2 separate regions of the Homo sapiens genome follow, and region 2 is linked to region 1. Evidence: promoter capture Hi-C in 16 types of primary human blood cells and fetal thymus (Javierre and others, 2016). All regions are on one chromosome and are shown on one strand. The core of a region is centred on a gene start or on the middle of the fragment in contact, and the rest is flanking DNA. Distances in the headings are between cores, read along the strand shown.

What was found. The method cuts DNA at HindIII sites, captures the fragments that hold promoters and counts their contacts. A CHiCAGO score of 5 or more calls a contact.
Region 2: a contact is called between a fragment that was not itself captured here and the fragment with the promoter of EN2 in region 1, in 2 of 17 cell types (total B cells and naive B cells). The highest score is 8.4, in total B cells.

Annotation. Positions count from the first base shown.
Region 1 is chr7:155,454,175-155,461,601 of GRCh38, forward strand. It overlaps EN2 (engrailed homeobox 2), which reads left to right and starts at 3,955. Exons shown (of 2, transcript NM_001427.4): 1 at 3,955-4,888. The coding sequence starts at 4,204. EN2-DT (EN2 divergent transcript) reads right to left here and starts at 2,944. Exons shown (of 3, transcript NR_186580.1): 1 at 2,816-2,944. RefSeq lists enhancers at 1-167, 168-693, 2,617-3,608. The HindIII fragment of the contact is 14,368 bases long and covers 815-7,427 here.
Region 2 is chr7:157,025,050-157,032,476 of GRCh38, forward strand. No RefSeq gene overlaps it. Among named protein-coding and RNA genes, the nearest start is that of MNX1-AS1, 18 kb to the left of the region's middle. The HindIII fragment of the contact is 611 bases long and covers 2,815-3,425 here.

The DNA of each region.
Region 1 (7,427 bases), core at 2,705-5,204:
TGCTCGCCCCGGGGAAGGTGTTGCTCTCCTATCGGCCCCAATTCCCCGCCCGGCGCCTGGGGCTTGGCTGCGGGGCTCGGCTCCCAGCCGAGGGCGCAGGGCTGGCCAGGCCTGCTTTGGCTGAGGTGGAGATCTCGCTCTCAGGGATTGTTGGGCGTCTCTGCCCCGCGAGTAACGAGACCGCCGCGAGCGAACGGCTTTCATTGAGTCCATTTTTCCAAGTGTCACCACGTCAAGCTAGAGAAGCGAGGCGAGTGGAGGGGACGCAGAGGGGCCGGAAAAGTCACCCTTCTCTGGCCTCGTTTTCAGATAAAAACGGGAGCCTGGCTCGGCATCCGGGCGCCCGGTGTCTCCGGGGCGCTTCACTGAGGTTTTGTTTGCAAAACTAGCGTCCGTGTCCTGAAGCGCACGGCGTCTGGAAGCTGCTTTCCTGCTCGCCCTCTCCGAGGCCCCTCTTTGTGCAGCGAGCCTGAGAAATATGGAGGACCGTCCTCCGCAAGCGGGTGGTCGCGGGCGCTCTCCGATTCCTGGGTGAAGCTAGAGGGAAAACGGGGTTCCCGGGTCAGTGCCCCACTTTCCATCCCGGGAGAAACTAATGTCCGGAGAGGGCTCGTCTGATCCGCACAGAAAGGCCGACCTTGAGGGCGGCGGTCGTTCGGGGGAGAAAGCGGAGGCTCTGGGCTCGCGGGAGCGCGGCAGCCGGGGCTGGCATCGCAGAGGAGAGACACGCCACTGCCCCGCATCCCCAGAAAGCGCGAGGCGCCGTCCCAGCTGGGGCAGGCGGCCGAGGCCGGTCCTCATGCGCGCTTCTCGAAGCTTCCTGAAACACCTTGCGGAGTTCCGTGTGTATAGAACTCAGCACCGCCCAGCCCCTGGGCAGCTCAACTTTCTGCAGCCCCATCCCAGCTTCCCCGGCCCTTTGAACGGTGACCCCTCTTACCGCTTTCCCAGAGTTGTTTCGTGTTTGGGTCCACTCTGGGGGGCCCGGTACCCTCTAGTTATCTCTCTCTTCATTTATTTCTCTTTCTCCTATTCCTCCCTCCACCTCTCACCTTCCTCCTTTCCAGGAGAGCGACCCACGAATTCCTCTTCCTCCAGCCAACCCCAGGGCCCAGCCCGCAGACCCTGCGAGGGCAGGTCTCTGCCCACCGGCCCGCCAGGCGCCCTGGAGGTGACGCTCTGCTTCCCAGAGTCTCTGTTGCAGCCACGAATTGGGGTCTGGGTCGCAGGAAAGCACAGGGCTGAAGCCCAGCGTCTTGGGGCCATTTATACTGAGGCAGTCAGAGGCAAAGAGTCCCAAGAATTCAGAAAATACTTCTCAGGAAGCCGCCTAATTGGCTTTCATGGGACAGGTGGAGCCATTAACCTGGGATGGTTTTGCAGGAACCAAAGAGCTCAGGGCCCCTCCTCCCCCCAATATCATGTTCAGGAGACCCAGAGTCGTTGGACCCTCCCTTTCCTGACTGGTGATCATCAGAGTTTCCAGAGTTGCAGAAAATTCTCCCCCCAAAAAACCAAGTAAGCGTCAATAAGACTTCCCACAAACTCTCACCAGCCCTATTTTCCCGGGGGGCAGGTAGACTGTGGGGTTTGATTTTTTGAGACTCGGGGAGGACCCCTGGCAGATGTGTGCCTAGCCAGAACATTTGGTAAGGACTCCTCCAATGAAGAAAAAGTGGAGGAATCCAGCCCCAGCGAGAAGAGGCTTCCCCACCCTGCCCTAGACACACCGGACAGAGGGCACACTCTGACCAGAGCCACGTCCAGTGGCCAGGAGGCCAGCCCAGCACCTCCTCCCCCACCATTCCCGTCCTGGGTGGGGGGGTAATTTTCCTGGGAGCAGCTGTGGGAACTGTCGTTTCTCATCCCAGCCCAGCCAGCACTCTGAAGCCTGCAGGGGAAGGACAGCACGTGGGATGGACACTGGGGAAGGAGCTTCGCAAGGCCAGGGTGCAACCTTCAGGCCCCAGGTGGCCTGGCAGGCCACGCTGCCTCGGAGATGCTTGCCAGACTCCCCAAGTTCACTCAGGGCCTGGCAGCAACCTGCTGGCTGCCTCTGCGGGGGTCTGGGTTGCTGAGCACGGTGCAGCTGCCCAGGGCCAATCAGCCCTAGGGTGTCCGTGCCAGGCTGCGGCCTCCCCGCCTCCCCCGCACTGAGGGTACTCATGGCGTGCAAATGCTCCCGCACCCCCAGAGCTGCCCTATCGGATGTTTCCAGGAATTCACACATTTCCATAAAAATGCATTTTAAATGATGGACAGGCGAGCCTGGGGTAACAACGGGTGTTTGGTGGGTAGACAAGAGCAAATGGGAAGGAGCCCGAGGGAGGAGGGGGAAGAGAAGAGGAAACAGAACTTCCAGTTGGACATTCTGACAACAGCTGGAAGGAAAGTCTAGAAAAGATGAAGAGAGAGGAGGGGAGAAACCAACTGGGGCTCCCACCCTTGCCGTTGGATTCCTAATTCTCGTTTCAAATGGGCCCTGCTCTCCGGCAAAATTAGTTTAAAGGATTTTAAAACAAAGAAAACGAGATGACCGGTCTGGGAGCTCCTCAATCAGAGTAGAGAAGTTAGAGGGGGGCGGGCGACTTGGTTTTGAAGTCTTAGCTGAACAGTCACCCCTCCTCTCCTTGGCAAAAAGGATTCCTTTAGAACCTCCGAGGCTCCTGGATTTCTCCCTTCGCAAATGGAGCCGCATACTGCATTCCCCCGCTCTTTCGGATCGCTAAGCATGTTTCATGAGGGTCGCTGTCCCCGGGTGGAATGCGGCCGTATGCACGCGCCTCCCTGCACACGCACACACACGCACACTTACAATAAGTGTCTGCAGGAGGAGTGTCCTGCGCGCCAGCTCTGCGTTTAAGACAGGAAGCTGCCGGGTTACCGAGTCAAATGGGAGTGACACTATTCCTCTCCATCAGCAAGGAAAGCGGACCACAAAAGTCCCTTTGTATCTCGGCAGCTCATTTAATATTATTTATGCATTTTGTGCAAGGAATTGTGGGATTTCGCCCCACGGTAAACAATATGGAAATCTTAAAAATAGCGATCTTCCTGTGCGTGTCCACCTACGCGCCCCGGGGTGACCTGGCGGGGCTGTCGCCGGGTGACTCACACCCCTGAACCGCGAAGCGACAGGGAAAGCGCGGGCGAGCGCAGGAGACGCGGTCGGGGGTCTCTCCGGGTTCCTGGGCTCCCGCACCCGGAGCGGGGGACGCGGCCGCTTTAAGGGGAGGAGGGGCGGCGGGCTGCTCCTGTCACCCAGCGGCGGCCGGAGCGTCACGTGGGCGCGCGGCGCCGCGGCCATTGGCCCGAGGCACGTGTCCAGGAGACCGGCCTGCGACGTCACTCGAGGGGGCTCTGTTAAAAATAAGAACAAAAATCCAGAGTGAAAGTGTCTCAGGTTGCGCCGAGTGGCCTGGAAATTTCCGAGCCCGCGCGGAGGCCGAGGCGGCGAGGGCGGCGGACGGCCGGGGAGCGCGGGCGGCCCAGCCCGGCCCGGCCGGGCCCTGGCCTCGCGTCTCTCACCCATGCGACTCGGGCCGCGGAGCTCTGCGGGGCTCGGCGGGGGCGCGGCCGCACGCCGGTGGGGCGCCCCGGCCCGCAGCGGGGCGGCGGCCGCGAGGAGGGGGCCTCCATGTGCGTGCGGGCGGTGGCGGGCGCGCTGACCGCGGGCGCCCGGCACCCTCGAGGGCCGGCTAGGGCGTGCGGGCGGGGACGGCCGGGCGGCGGCGGCGGCCGGAGCCGGCCCGGGCGGGCGTGAGCGCCGGGGAACGCGCTGCCTGCATGCGCGCAGCTCTCGCCCCGGGCGGCCCAGGCGGCGGCGCCGGAGCCCGAGGCGGCCGGACGCGGAGAGGAGCGGGGAGCCCGGGAGGCGGCCCGCGTCCCCGCCGGACCACTGCGACTGTCTAGACCCCGGCTGCGCGGCGAAGTCGAGGACTTGGCTCTGTTGAATCTCTCATCGTCTGGGCGAGCGGGGCGGCTCGTGGTGTTTCTAACCCAGTTCGTGGATTCAAAGGTGGCTCCGCGCCGAGCGCGGCCGGCGACTTGTAGGACCTCAGCCCTGGCCGCGGCCGCCGCGCACGCCCTCGGAAGACTCGGCGGGGTGGGGGCGCGGGGGTCTCCGTGTGCGCCGCGGGAGGGCCGAAGGCTGATTTGGAAGGGCGTCCCCGGAGAACCAGTGTGGGATTTACTGTGAACAGCATGGAGGAGAATGACCCCAAGCCTGGCGAAGCAGCGGCGGCGGTGGAGGGACAGCGGCAGCCGGAATCCAGCCCCGGCGGCGGCTCGGGCGGCGGCGGCGGTAGCAGCCCGGGCGAAGCGGACACCGGGCGCCGGCGGGCTCTGATGCTGCCCGCGGTCCTGCAGGCGCCCGGCAACCACCAGCACCCGCACCGCATCACCAACTTCTTCATCGACAACATCCTGCGGCCCGAGTTCGGCCGGCGAAAGGACGCGGGGACCTGCTGTGCGGGCGCGGGAGGAGGAAGGGGCGGCGGAGCCGGCGGCGAAGGCGGCGCGAGCGGTGCGGAGGGAGGCGGCGGCGCGGGCGGCTCGGAGCAGCTCTTGGGCTCGGGCTCCCGAGAGCCCCGGCAGAACCCGCCATGTGCGCCCGGCGCGGGCGGGCCGCTCCCAGCCGCCGGCAGCGACTCTCCGGGTGACGGGGAAGGCGGCTCCAAGACGCTCTCGCTGCACGGTGGCGCCAAGAAAGGCGGCGACCCCGGCGGCCCCCTGGACGGGTCGCTCAAGGCCCGCGGCTTGGGCGGCGGCGACCTGTCGGTGAGCTCGGACTCGGACAGCTCGCAAGCCGGCGCCAACCTGGGCGCGCAGCCCATGCTCTGGCCGGCGTGGGTCTACTGTACGCGCTACTCGGACCGGCCTTCTTCAGGTGAGCCCGCGGGGACCACGCGTCCCGGCTCGCCGCGGGGAGGCCCGCGGAGCTGGGGGGCGGTGCTGGCGCGGGAACTTACCGGGAGGAAAACATCTCGAACCTCCCCCGCGCACACGCACAAAGACTCACGCGACATTGTGTGAAGCTGACGCCGGCCCGGGCAGCGGCCAGGAGTCCAGCGGCAGGACTGATTCGCTAGGGGGTACAGACTTCTTAGGACCGCAGAAGGGACCTTCTTTCTTTCTCTGTCTCTCTCTCTCCTTCCTCTCTCCCTGTCTCCCCTCTCTGTCTTCCACCCCGCCTTGGCGCATCTCTTCCCAGCCCCTAGCCCATGTCTCCCCCACTGTAGTTTTTTTTGGTGGGAACGTGGTGGCTGGAAGATGGGCCCGGAAGTGCACACTCTCATCCCCTTCCCTACGATCTTCCAACTCAGGCCAGGCCGGGGACGCATGCCCCAGCCCACCCCAGACTTGTCCTACCATCCGGTTATCCCGGCTGTGCTCGGGGAAGAAAAGGCGAGGCCCTTTGCCGCTCTGCCTTCTGCCCCTCGGGCCTGCGCTGACCGGTGGGACTCAGGAGGATGCACACAGGGAAGGAGGAAAATAAAGGCGCCCTTTCCCCTTGGCTCCACTTTGTTTGCCAGCGCCAGCCCGCAGTGGTGGGGCTCAGCCCCCTTCCTGCACACAGCGAGGACAAGGGAGGCAGCCGTCCCTCCCGGCACCTGCCATCCCCAAATAGAAAGGACCTTCTCTCAGGGTTTCCTGGGGGCTGCTGATGGGAAAGAGGCAGCATTCGCAGGGGCCCTGCAGAGATGCTGGATATATTTTTTCATAGATCTGCGATTTTAAAAAACTAAGTCCATGTCCTTGTAGAAATCATCAACTGCATTCCATGCGGGTCTGCGGCTGGGAACCGCCATTAGAAGTGGACTGTTTGACCCCGAGCTGGCAGCGGATCCCCGCTGCCCCCAAACCCTCAACTATTTTGCGGGGGTCATTTGCCCAGATCACAGCAGGAGTGAGCCAACCCTTGGGCCGCCATCCCGCAGAACTATGCGTGCATATTTCTGATGAAATTCAGATTTCTCAGCTAGATCTGAAATTTGCTCCATTGTTCTCGTCTTCCTCCTTTGTTAATATTTAATTAACATACAGGCTCACAATGCCGGGCGAGGAGACTCGGCCGGGCTTTGTGCGGCGCGGGAGTTCGCTGAGCCAGCCCCCAACGGCCCGGGAGCTGGGCAGCACCGCCCGGCCCGGCCTGGCCCGGCCCAGCTCAGCCCAGCCCAAGTCGCCTATCTTCATGGGCTTTAAAATATCCCTGCAAGATAATGTTTCTGTTCTTTGGTTTCTCCGAAAGAAAGGGGAGAGAGAGTTTTCTTGGGGAGGTTTGATTCTGTTTCTGAGACTCCTAAGTATTTGTCTTTTGAAAGAAAATCAAGAAAAAAACCTAAAAATTATTATTTTAGGGAAATTTATTGCCATAAAATGGTGTCCTTTTGCGGGCTGCTTCATGAGTGCATTAACAAGAGCCCCAGGACCAGAAGAGTTTGGGGGTAGAGTTCTGGGGAAGGGAGTGGTTGGAAACCCAGACAGAGATGGGCTCTGGGAGCAGGAGGCTGGGGCCTCTCCTGGAGCCTTGTGCCCCATCCCCCACCACCGTTCCGGAGGGCCAACCCCATCTCCAAATCTGCACCTACCCCTACCAAAGCCAGGCCCACTGGCCTGGAGCCCTGGGCGTGAGCAAGACAGGCACTGAGTGTGTACGTGTGCATGGGGTGGGTGCCCAAGTATAGGGTGTGTGCTCTCATGGGTGGTGAGCCTGCCTATGGGTTGCTTTAAAAGCTGCCCTTGGTGCTCCTGAGGTGGTGCCCACAGATCCTCTTTCTCCAGGCCTGTCTCCTGGAGAGAGCACAAGACTCACTTGGCCATGAGGGAGTGCTTGGCATTCACCCTGGGCCTCCAGTTCGTCCCCCACCTCTTGCTGGGCACAGCCCCAGCACCCTAGTTGACTCTCCTGACCTGGGCAGGGTGCAGTCCCAGGGCCTCCAAGGAGATCCACATTCCTCTTCTCCTCAGTGTGCCCGGCAGCTCTCCGGCCCTGAAGGGTGGGGGGCCCCCAGCCTTCTCCAGCCACAGGGACCTGTGATGAAGCTGGGGCCAGATGCTCCCTAAAGCCGATTCATACACCGCACAAATTGAAACCCAGAGGCGAGGTCACCACTCCCTGCCAGTGGCCTTGCCCCCTTCTTCCCCCACAGGGAACGCCAGGGGGTTGAGCCTCTTATCACCAAAAAGAAACTGATGACACTTCCCTCCTTCTGCTCTCCTCCCTCTGCCCTTTCCCCATGGATAGCAGGTCCTAGAAGCCTTACAGCGACCCTGTCCAAAACCTGGGGCAGGTCCACAGGGAGAAGGCCAGGTCAGGTTCATAAGTCTGAATCCCAGTTGGGAGGCACAGTGGGGAGGGTCAGAAGTGGACCTGGACAAGGTCAGCTGGGCTACCCTGCTGCCCACAGTGAAGCAGTCCCATGTCT
Region 2 (7,427 bases), core at 1,870-4,369, 1.6 Mb after region 1:
GACTTTGTTTCTTTTGGGCACAAACCCAGAAGCGGGATGGCTGGGTCATATGGTAGTTCTCATTCTGAATTTTTTGAGGACACTCCAAGCTGTTTCCCGTAATGGCTGCACTAATTCCTATTCCCACCAGCTGCGTAGGGGATTCCTCTTTCTCTCCACCCTCACCAGCACTTACCTATTGTCTTCTTGATAACAGCCATGCTAACAGGTGTAAAGTGCTGCTTGTGATTTTGATGTGCATTTCTCTGATGGTTAGTGGCATTGAGCACCTTTTTGTGTACATGTTGGTCATTTGTATGTCTCCTTTGGAAAAATATGTATTCAGGCCCTTTATCCGTGTTAACGTCAGATTATTACTTTTTTTTTCCTATTGAGATGTATGAGCTACTGATATATTTTGGATATCAACCTTTTATCAGATATGTGGTTTGCAAATGCTTCCTCCCATTCCATAGGTTGTCTTTCCATTTTGTTGACTGCTTTCTTTGCTGTGCAAAAGCTTTCTGATGTGATGAAATTGCCCTACTTCATTTTTGCTTTTGTTTCCTGTGCTTTTGGTGTCAAATCCAAAAATCATTGCCAAGATCAATATCAATGAGATTTCTCCCGTGTTTTCTTCTAGGAGTTTTGCCATTTCAGGTCTTACATTTAAGCCTTTGATCCATTTCGAGTTAATGTTTGTGAGTGGTGTAAGATAAGGGTCAAGGTTTATTCTTATGCTTGTGTGTATCTATTCTCCAACACCGTTTATTGAAGAGATAATACTTTCCCCATTGTCTATTCTTGGCATCCTTGTCAAATATTAGTTAACCTGAGCCAGGCATGGTGTTACGTGCTGTAATCCCAGCTACTTGGTGGACTGAGATGGGAGGATCACTTGAGCCTAGGGGTTCAAGATCAGACTAGGCGCTTTAGTGAGACCCCATCTCTATAGGAAATAAAGTAGAAAAAATATCAGTTAACCGTATATGTGTGGGTTTACTTCTAGGCCCTAGATTTTGTTCCATTGGTCTATGTGTCTGTTTTTATGCCAGAACCATGCTCATTTTTATCACATAGGTTTACAATGGAGTTTGAAATCAGGAAATGGAATGCCTCCTGCTCTGTTCTTCTTTCTCAAGACTGTTTTGGCTATTTGGGGTCTTTTGTGGTTCCATATGAATTTTGGGATTGTTTTTTCTACTTATACAAAAAATGTCATTGGGATTTTGACAGGGATTGCATCGAATTTGTAGATTGCTTTGGGTAGTACCGACATTTTAACAATATTAAGTCTTCTGATTCACGAACAGGGGATGCCTTTCCACTTATTTGTAGCCTTCTTTGATTTCTTTCTTCAGTGTCTTATAGGTTTTATTACACAGATCTTTCGCCTCCTTGGTTAAATTTACATGGAAGTATTTTATTCTTTTTGATGCTATTGTAAATGGGATCATTTTCTTAATTTCCTTTTCAGACAGTTCGTAGTGTATAGAAAGGCTACTGATTTATGTTTGTTGATTTTGTATCCGTCAACTTTACTGAATTTGTTGATCAGTTCTAACAGTTTTTTGTGGAGTCTTCAGGGTTTTCTGTGCATAAGATCATGTCATCTGCAAACAGAGACAATTTTACTGCCTCCTTTCCTATTTGATGCTCTTTATTTCTTTCTTTTGCCTAATTGCCCTGGCTAGGCTAGGACTTCCAGGACAATGTTGAATAGAAGCAGTGACAGTGGGTATCCTTGTCTTGTTCCTGATCTTAGAGGAAAAGCTTTCAGCTTTTCACCATTGAGTATGATGCTAGCGGTGAGCTTTTCATATATGGTCCTTACTATATTGAGGCACGCACGTTCCTTCTACCTTATACATAATTTGTTGAATTTTTTTTTATCATGAGAGGATGTTGAGTTTTGTTAAACACTTTTTATTCATCGAATGAGATGATCATATGGTTTTTGTCCTTCATTCTGTTAATGTGGTATATTGTACTTATTGATTTGTAATATTGAACCATCGTTGCATCCAGAGATAAATCCCACTTGATCACAGGGAATGATCCTTTTAAAGTGCTGTTGAATTCAGTTTGCTGGTGTTTTGTTGCGGATTTTTCCATCCATGTTTATCAGGGATATTGGTCTGTCATTTTCTCTTCTGGCTGTGTCGTTATCTGGCTTTGATGTCAGCAAAATAGTAGACTTGTAAAATGAGTTGGGAAGTGGTCCCTAAAAGGGAGGTTTTTTTTTTTTTTTTTTTTTTTGAGATGGAGTCTCACTCTGTCACCCCCAGGCTAGAGTACAATGGCGTGGTCTTGGCTCACTGCAACCTCCGCCTCCCGGGTTCAAGTGATTCTCTCGCCTCAGCCTCCCAAGTAGCTGGGACTATAGGCACGTGCCACTACACCTGACTAATTTTTGTATTTTTGGTAGAGACAGGCTTTCACTATGTTGGCCAGGCTGGTCTCGAACTCCTGACCTCGTGATCTGGCCTCCCAAAGTGCTGGGATTACAGGCGGGGCTACCGCGCCTGGCCAATAGAGAAGTTTTTAAAATCTTTGAAATTGCCTTCTCTGGCTGCCTTTCATGATGGATCCCAGGAAGGGACAGAGGGGAAGTGACACAGCCTTCACACTCCCCAGTCAGAACGTCCGACCTGGGTGTGTGCAAGGGACACAGGCCTCAACAAGCTGTGAGGGAGCAGACACCAGGAACTGACTTAGACCAGAGGCAGCAACATCTGAGATATGGGAGGATGGGGATCTAGTGGTGGGGAAAGAAAAAAGGGGGCGGAATTCAGGCCAAGGGAATTGTGGAATACTGCCAAATGTGTGATGAGAAGCTTTAGTATTTGCCTGCTGGGCATTAAAATACCATGAATCATTGACAAGAAACCAAACAATGCTGGATCTATATAACAATTTGAACCTATATTGCTCCAAGTAAAATCAAATTAGAAGCCTTTCCCCAATTAGGTTATGCAAACGCTGACACAGAATAGAGTTGTGTTTGCTGTACACATGACGCAACATCCACCTTACACCTCGCACAGCGCAGATACTCTCAAGCACACCCATCTCGACACCGGGGTTGTGTCAACATTCTACCCCTAGATAATAAATACGAGACACAGCACACACTGCTTTTAATTGCATCGATAAACTGGGATTAACCCCCCAAGTCAGGTTTCACTATTGCAATTAAATGTCCTCAAATAAATTGTTTCCTCAATAAACAAATGGAAGGGGCTGTGTTTGCCCTGAATAATAACAGGTGTAATATTTTACTCGCTAAAGTTAAGTATTAAGTGGAATCACTTGCTAGTCCTGATTTATTCCCTGAGATCGGAAAGTCATTTTTCATACGTCATGTGCTGCTTCAGTACTGTATAAACAGCTAATAATGCACTAAATCAACCTGGCACGACCTTGCATTTCACCTAAAGCCACCAAGCTTCAAAATCCTACAGTTGGGTGTTCTCACGAGAGCCAAAGAAAACAGATGTCCTGCAAAAATCGCTGGCTGACTGCTTTTTGGGTTTTTGTCTTTAGCTTCTAAAATTCAAAATGTAAGCATTCCATAAAAACCTCGTGAGTCGTTGAACAAGCCAGTAGCTCTTTATGGACCGTGTTCTCACTGGTCTTCTGGTTGCTGCAGACGAGGCCGGCAGGCTCAGCCTACGGGAAGGCCACAGTGGGAGGACTTCCCCTGCGCCTGGGCTGAGTCCCCACCTTCCACGACCCTGTCCCCTTCATCGGTGAAACAGCACAAGACATTCCTAGAGTGACATTTCTCCCTTAATCACAGAAATGCTTGCCTCATTTTTGATGTGTTTGTGGACGTTGCATGGTTTTCAGGGCTTTTGATGTACATAGGTAAAGTCAGTATATCAATGCTGCCCTTTATTTTTAAGAGGACAGGGAAGGGAAAAGACAGTGAAGTGTCCTTGGAGGTTGGGGGTGAACATTATATTGGTTCTCAAATAACTAGGACCTATTCTTTTTCAATAGCATAGAATAACATTCTTGTTCTAGAATAGTCTACAGGGTGTAGGCCAGCGTTTTCTAAATGGTGAGTGGTGATTTGCTAAGCTATTAATATTTAATATAAACTATTAAAATTAACTCATTACTAGTTCATTTTATTTGGTCTTTTCAAATTCGTGGGTTTTTTCCCCTCTGGTTTCTTAGCCAGATACTTAGTAATGAGAATTTGTAACCTATGTGTTTTGATGTTCATTATAAATCGTTTTTTTTTTAAATAGAGATGAGATCTTGCTATGTTGTCCAGGCTTGTCTCAAACTCCTGAGCTCAAATGATCCTCTCGCCTCTACCTCCTAAAGTGCTGGGATTACAGGCATGAACCACCACACCTGGCCATAATTGTTTCTTAATTTGTCTGTATATGATCTTTCTAGAATTCATTTGGTTGCTGCTTAAACTTTGCACCATGAAAGACCCCCTTTTTTTCCCCTAATAACCTTATACTTGCATACCAAGCTGTATTTAAAATAATGCATTGCTTTAAAACAATTAATTAAATCTATATTGAGCATCTTGTCCACATGAGAGGGAGAACACACATCCTGCACTGAGGCAAGCTAACTCCATTTCCAACCAGAGATTCCGAAGACTAGCTAAGGCCACCTCTTGAAGAGAGAGCGCAGGATTTCAATTAAGCTTTTATAAATAACATATGGGAATTACCTGGAAGACACTGCCCTCCCCTTCCCCATGGCTACCTTCCTAGGTGCCTAGAGACCTGGACACCCTAGGTTGGGATTTATTGATTTAGTTAAGGAGCAATTTAGGAAACCTTTTATTAACATACTCTCGTCATCAGCATCACTGTCACCTTTCCATCATTCTGAGTGATCACCACTCTACACTTATTGTTTGTTAGTGAATCTTTCATACTTAGATCACCTAAGGGGAAATGCTTGCTGGGCTCCTCCACAGACAGAAAATATGCAGAGGAATCATGGCACAACTTACATACATCAAAACAGCGCTCCTTTTAATTGATGGCCTATAGCTTAAGAGAGAGAGTTGGCTGGGCACGGTGGCTCACACCTGTAATCCCAGCACTTTGGGAGGCCGAGGCAGGCGGATCACAAGGTCAGGAGATCGAGACCATCCTGGCTAACATGGTGAAACCCCGTCTCTACTAAAAATACAAAAAATTAGCCGGGCGTGGTGGCGGGCGCCTGTAGTCCCAGCTACTCAGGAGGCTGAGGCAGGAGAATGGCGTGAACCCGGGAGGCGGTGCTTGCAGTGAGCCGAGATTGCGCCACTGCACTCCAGCCTGGGCGACAGAGTGAGACTCTGTCTCAAAAAAAAAAAAAAAAAGAAAGAAAAAAAAGAGAGTTTGCCTTCCCCAAACTATTATAAAACATTTTTAGATGATAAAGGGCATCAGATGCAGAAGATAAAATGTTTAACACATAGGACCTCATTCAGACCATGAATATAGAGCTATAGGTAGTTGTAAGCTCCTAGGAATATTTGATGGGAAATATATTGATAATACAATTATTCTTTTGAAAGGGACTGTAATGATGGCGAATTTCATTTAATAAATTAATAAGAACCATTTGATTCAAACATGAGCCTTTTAATGATACACAGAGTTAATAATATCTGTCTTGCCACCTAAAGAGGTTTTTTTTTTTTTTTTTTTTTCTGAGATGGAGTCTCGCTCTGTTGCCCAGGCTGGAGTGCAGTGGCACAATCTCAGCTCACTGCAAGCTCCACCTCCCAGGTTCACACCATTCTCCTGCCTCAACCTCCCGAGTAGCTGGGACTACAGGTGCCAGCCACCGTGCCCAGCTAATTTTTTGTATTTTTAGTAGAGACGGGGTTTCACTGTGTTAGCCAGGATGGTCTCAATCTCCTGACCTCATGATCCACCCGCCTCAGCCTCCCGAAGTGCTGGGATTACAGGCGTGAGCCACCATGCCCGGCCCTAAAGAGGTTTTAAAAGACTGCATCGAGCGATCCACAATTGAGCACCTATCTGCCGTTTATTTTTTATTTTTTGAGAAAAAGTCTTGCTCTGTCACCCAGGTTGGAGTGCAGTGGCACGATCTTGGCTCACTGCAACCTCCGCCTCCTGGGTTCAAGCGATTCCCCTGCCTCAGCCTCCTGAGTAGCTGGGACTATAGGTGCCCACCACCATGCTCGGCTAATTTTTGTATTTTTAGTAGAGACGGTGTTTCACCATGTTAGCCAGGATAGTCTCTATCTCCTGACCTCATGATCCACCCACCTCAGCCTCCAAAAGTGCTATCTGCCCTTTATTAATGCAATGTTGGTTTTTATATTAAAACACATTTAAGTGTAGTCTCTGAAAATATTAAAGAAAAACAAATGTAAAATAATGCTGCAATATCCTTATCTTATAGTTGTGAATAAAAATATATAATTTTCCAAAAAATATGACTTTTTCTTTTTTATTAAATTACATTAATAAATCATTTATTTTTGAGACAGAGCCTCATTCTGTCACCCAGGCTGGAGTGCAGTGGTGCGATCACGGCTCACTGCAGTCTTGACCTCCTGGGCTCAAGCGATTCTCCCACCTCCACCTCCCAAAGTGCTGGGATTGCAGGCATGAGCCACTGTGCCTGGCCAAAATGTGGCTTTTAAAATTTTAGGACTCCGTTGCAAAATAGAAATATAAATGACCAAATCTGTGTTAAAGAGTCTCAGAACAGGATCTTAGAAGTTAGTGATGTGTGCGAAGAAGGTGAGAACACGCATGTCTGTGTTTCCTATACAGCCTGGGCGTTGTGTCATTGCTGTGGGGAGAAGTGCAGCTTGGGAGAGGGAGCCTGGCTTTGAAGCCAGGCAGGTCTAGGTCCCAGTGGCTGTCACTGCAGGTTGTGATGGGACCTCGGACAAGCTCGCCAATCCTTCTTAGCATCAGTTTCCTTATCTTATCTGTAAATGGAGATGATATGTGTCAGTCCTAACGGGGATGCTGGGAACATTGAAAATACATCGGAACACCCAGCACATCATGAGAATGTACACTCGCTGGCTCACCTCGCTCTCCTGGCAGGATATGTTCTATTTTCTATGAATTTATTGTAGCTGATGGTGGTGGTGGGAATCTGTACGGGTATGTGTGCCTAAAAACTGAAATTGGAAACCAGAAGCTAAAGCTATTTGTCTTAACTCCACGCCAGACTGTGGTCAAAGCACATTGGTCAAAGCACATTGCCTCATCTACTCCTCATATTTCCATGAGTTGATTCTATAGTTGCCCCATTTTACAGATCAAGAGACTGAGGCTCAGAGAAATGAGATGACCTGTCTAAAATCACCTGCCTGGCTGGACGCGGTGACTCATGCCTGTAATCCAGCACTCTGGGAGGCCAAGGCAGCAGATCACTTGAGGTCAGGAGTTTGAGACCAGCCTGGTCAATATGGTGAAACCCTGTCTCTACTA